Regions from separate parts of the Homo sapiens genome. Here region 1 is linked to region 2. The links are contacts of gene promoters, found by promoter capture Hi-C in human tissues and cell types (Jung and others, 2019). All regions are on one chromosome and are shown on one strand. Each heading gives the region's core, a stretch centred on a gene start or on the middle of the fragment in contact. The rest is flanking DNA. Distances are from core to core; before and after follow the strand shown.

Region 1 (2,700 bases), core at 11-2,510, 1.2 Mb after region 2:
TGTAATTTTTAAACAGAGAAGGAAAGCTTCATTGAGAAATGACCTTTGAACAAAGACTTGAAGGAAATGAGGGAATGAGCCATCTGGGTAGAGGGAGAGGAAAGGCCATGAGGCAGGGTGTGATTGGTGTGTTTGAGGAACAGTAAGGAAGGCAGTATGGACAGAATGAACTGGAGGACTAGGAGATGAGATCAAAGGATGGAGAGGGGGAAGAGGCGATGTACAGGGCCTTTGGGGCCACTATTAGGAGTTGGGCTTTTATCATGAAGATTTTATCTGAAAGATTTTAATCAGAGGAATAAAACTTTAGCCAATCAAATCAGGAAGTGGCTTTGGTGAGTAGAGCCAAAACAGTGGGAAATGAGTGAACCTAAAACGTCTCTTAAAGAAGAGTTTGAGGCACTTCTTTCCTTTACTGAAATAATCTTGCAAAGGCTCCTTCTAATCTGGACAGTGCAGGAGAAACCTTGGTTTGGGGGATTTTCTTTTTATGGTCTGGCCTGATCCTCCTGCTTCTATCTCCTGTCTATCTGCAGACCCACCACAGCACAAGTGAACAGATCCCGGGGATCAAACGTAGCTCACCTTGATTGGAGTTGGGTGTTCCCCAAATTTTCAGTTCCACATTATTATGATTTCTCAGCTTATAATCCAAGATAGCGAATCACCTCTATTTTAGGAACATTTTACCAGCTTCATAAAGGGGTTCTCGTTTCTCATTTTTCTAAGTTTATAGTATAGCTTACCTCATTACTGAAGCCATGAACCACCTATATGAGTAAATTTCCTTGATTTATCCTCTTCTCATGCCTGAATTTAGTAAAATGAAATATAAAAGCTGCATTATCAAAAGAAACATATGTACATATAATCTTGCACATACAGTTTGGGTAGAATTAAACTAACATGCTTCCAAAGGGAAGTTATATGAAAAAATACTTTTCTAAATTTCAAATAAATGAGGCCATGTTAAATATCTATAATTAGTCATAGGTAAAGCAATGAACATACCCTTTGTAAACTTTAAAGCATTCTCCAAAAGTTATTTCTATATAAGTCCCCAAACATATGTCAAGATAGATATAAGATATATGTAATATATAATATTATATATTTTTTGGCCATGGTGGCTCACACCTGTAATCCCAGCACTTTGGGAGGCTGAGGTGGGCGATCACTTGAGGTCAGGAGTTCCAGATCAGCCTGGCCAATGTGGTGAAACCCCATCTCTACTAAAAATACAAAAATTAGCTGGGCATGGCGGTGCGTGCCTGTAGTCCCAGCTACTCGGGAGGCTGAGGCATGAGAATCACTTGAACCTGGGAGGAGGAGGTTGCAATGAGCAGGGATTGCACCACTGTACTCCAGCCTGGGTGACAGAGTGAGACTCTGTCTTAATAATAATAATAATAATAATAATAGATACTAACCATTGTGCATATTGCTCAGATGCAAAGGCAAGTGAGACTAAACTGATAAAACTTCTAAGTGCTACGACAAGTGGGTATGAATATATAGCTAGAGGTATGGTGCAGAAAATTTTGTAAAGTAACTAAGAAATAGAATCAGACCCTGAACTTAGGCACTTTCCAATCTAGTCAACTCTTTTTTAAAAAATATTAAAAGATTATTATTCCTTTGAGGCCAAATAAGGACACGTTCCTAGAAGACCCCGTTGTGGTTAGGAGCAGAGGCTATGGATCTCTACTGCAGGCTTGCCACCTAGGACCTGTGCAATCTTTGGCAAGTGACTTAATCTCTCTGAACCTCAGTTTTCTCATCTATGAAATGGCCTTAGTTGTACTATCTCATAGCATTTTATGAGGATGCAGTGAGTTAATATGAAAAGTGCTTGGAACAATATCTGGCATACAGTATTCTCTTAATAAATGTTATGCTCTTAATAAATGTTAGCTATTTTTATTACCCATATTTCCTTGAACAACAAAGCTTTTCACAATCAAAGAATAGCTTCTCAAGGAGAAGAATTAGGGGTTAAAAGGGTTAAAAGTTCTGAAGAATGAATCAGCATTTTTCTCTCCCTTGTCTTTCCCTGTCTGTTTAGCAACACTGATTAACAGCTCAGAGGAAGAGGTCCAGAATGAACTTGAATGACAAGGAAAACAACTAATCTTCCCTAGGCAATATCCTTATTAAAGTTTCACTTTAGTAACAACCAGGTTTTCACTGAGACAGGTTGGTTGGGGTGGGGTGGGTAGAAAAGGAAAAAGTAGGCCAGGCACGGTGGCTCACGCCTGTAATCCCAGGACTTTGGGAGGCTGAGGCAGGCGGATCACCTGAGGTCAGTAGTGCGAGACCAGCCTGGCCAACATGGTGAAACCATGTCTCTACTAAAAATACAAAAATTAGCCAGGTGTGGTGGCAGGCGCCTGTAGTCCCAGCTACTCGGGAGGCTGAGGCAGAGAATTGCTTGAACCAGGGAGGCAGAGGTTGCAGTGAGCCGAGATCGCGCCACTGCACTCAGCCTAGGCAATGAATGAGACTCCATCTCAAAAAAAAAAAAAAAAAAAAAAGGGAAGAGAAAAGAAAAAATAGATCTGCCTCGACATGCGAGACCTGAAAGACCCAGAGATACAGATTCCTTTTCTGGGCCACTTGTCTGCACTTCTGAAAATGCTGACCAGGTGTGGCACACAGGCTATGGGACACCAAACCACATGGTCCAGACAGATGATGAGC
Region 2 (2,700 bases), core at 30-2,529:
TGGGGTCACCACAAAGAAGGAAACATTTCTGTGATAGTTTCTCAAAAGTACCCTGGCCTGATCCTTCACTGCTACACGTCCCTGGACAAGTAGGTCTTTAACTTGCTACATTCTCTTCATTGTCTTTAACCACCCAGTGAATATCTCAAAAAATACCAAGAATTGGTTAACTAAAGTTTATACAATAACAAGATAAGCTTTTCACAAATATGTCTTATTTATTATTATTTATTTGTTTAAAGTTATAAGACATAAATTGGGCAACTCTTTTAACAAATTATTTTATCTGAGACACCGTTTACTTCAACCAAGTCACAAATAACCTGATTTTGTTATTAAATAACCTCTCAAAAAAAAAATTCAAGTTCTACTGTGTTTAGCTAGCAAGAGTTCTGTTTTGCATTTAACATATCTAAAAGGCCTCATGCACAATATAAGTAAATAACTCTTCTCACTACACAAGTAGATGCTAAAGCAACCTAGAGATTGAATAACTTCTGTGAGATCCTGCAGTGTCTGAAACAGACAGTATCTTTTTCAATCTTCTTTATTTTGTAAATTCCATCAGCTTAAAATGAAAAATTCTAACTATTAACCTCTCTAACTTCACTCTTGAGATCTTTCTTTCTGCCATTCAATTGGCATGAATAGTTCTCAAAGGAAGTGGAGAGCCATGAAAGCAAAGGATCTGAGCATGTCACGCAGCTCCTGTTCAGCCTGCCCTCTTAGCCTTTCTATAATCAAGGGCTTAGCTGGCCATGCACCTTTAAATCGTTTGATCTCAAGCAACAATTTGTGAACATGAGCATAATAAAAATTTTGGAACATAGAATGTGTTTAGAAATTTCCAATACCTTGAGAGGCCTTTGAGAGTTAAACTGCTCAAAACGAAAACAGTGAAGGAGTAGGTGACCAGTGTTAAAACAATTAAGTTAAAGCTTATGGACACTAAACATTCTCTTCTGTGATTTCTGATCCCCAAACATTTGCTTTCAAAAGTAGGCTTTCTTGTTTGGGTCCTTTTTGTCAAAATAATGAGAACACTTAGTAACAAGCAGAGGAGCATACCTTGATCCTGAGCCGTCATTTCTGCCGTGATAATCACAGGTGCACTGTGAAGGACACAAACAGCCCACTCCTTCCAAAAAGCTAAGGACAATGCACAGACATGCAAAGAGATGCATTGCTCCTTTTAGAGGTTATTTAAACAAAAGGTAAAAACCGAATCCTAAGCATTCAGAACCTGGTATGCCTGGAATACAAACAGCCATTTAGTAACAGCAGATTACACGGGATTAGCTGAGATCTGTAGTTACTTAACCTTCAAGTGTATCTTGCAGGAGATCAATTGATCCAGCCTTTGAATACAGTTTCAGCAAAGTAACACATTCTAAGGAAAATGAAAATCAAACACATGACAAGCAATTTCAATAGTTACCCGTAACTAGATTTGCAAGAAAATGCCTATTAAATCCCTTTCTTCTGGATGTACTTGCCACTACACCTTAAAAATATACTTAATGTAAAATAATTCAGTCTTGGCAGATGCAAGAAAATTCTGTAGATTATTTACATGTTACAACATTATAAAATGTTTTGCATTTGGTTTTTGCCAGAATGTGTTACTAATTCAGTTTTACAAAATTTAGTTTTAAAAATAGAAGCACATGACATAAAAATGATTTAGAAAAGAGTTATCGATGTTGCCACATACTGGCTATCTCTAAAAGTAAAGTAAAACAAGTCAGTTACACAGATTTTATAGGGAAAATGCTTCAATCCACTACTGATGTGGCAGGACTAAGTTCTCCAATAAGAACGTGTTCTGAGACTCTTCCAGGTCATCTCAGTGTGTGGAAGGTTTATCCCAGCACATTTATTTTTAATGCAGGCAACTATCTCTGTTCAATAGTTTCCCAAGTTATCAGCATCAAAGCCATATTTGAAGATCAACTCTAATTCTTTCAGCTATATTAGGCTCTGTCAGAAAATAAAAATTAAATGTAATTAAATTTAAAAGTATCTCCACACTCATAGAGTGGAGAATCCACAGGGACAATCAAGGATTTAAGTAATAAATATACGTCATTTAACCTTCTTAGTGGCTGCTTCTAACCATCCTCTTTAACTAAAAACCTTTTTAAAAGAAAATTAATTCTATAAAAATAAGCATATTATAGAAAATGTTATTTAAAACCAATAGAATGTATATAAAAACCATACAGTCTGAAAAACTGTGCTCAATTAAAATAAAATACTGCAGGTTTTCAGATTCTGCACAACTCGTTTGTTCATCAAATATTTACTGAGTACTTATTCTCTGCTGAGCATTGAGGGGTACAAAGATAAATAAGACAGTTATTACACATAAGGAACTCACACGATAAAGGGAGGAACAGACTACTAAAGAAGCACGAGAAAAGAGCATCAAACCCAGCCTGTGTTAGTCAAGCAAGACTTCCTAGGGTGGGTGGTGCCTGGCTGCCTTTTACAGGGTGCATGACGATGTATTATGGGAAAATCCAGAAAGTTGCATTGCAAGCAAAGGGAATAGTGGGAACAAAGGGAGGGAAGTGAGAAACAGTGTATTGTCCTCAGAGAATTTCAAGCACTTCTTGTTGCTCAGGCATAAGATTTTGAGGCAGGAAGTTAAAAAAGATAAAGCTGGAGAGATAAGCGGGGATGAAGTTATCAAGGAAA

The links. Contacts are between HindIII fragments. The study calls those that stand out against the background at their distance.
Region 1: a contact is called between a fragment that was not itself captured here and the fragment with the promoter of LRIT3 in region 2, in 1 of the 25 tissues and cell types used here (spleen).

The regions. Positions count from the first base shown.
Region 1 is chr4:108,684,605-108,687,304 of GRCh38, reverse strand. No RefSeq gene overlaps it. Among named protein-coding and RNA genes, the nearest start is that of OSTC, 35 kb to the right of the region's middle. The HindIII fragment of the contact is 4,266 bases long and covers 1-2,700 here.
Region 2 is chr4:109,846,686-109,849,385 of GRCh38, reverse strand. It overlaps LRIT3 (leucine rich repeat, Ig-like and transmembrane domains 3), which reads right to left and starts at 1,279. Exons shown (of 4, transcript NM_198506.5): 1 at 1,069-1,279. The coding sequence starts at 1,184. The HindIII fragment of the contact is 6,154 bases long and covers 569-2,700 here.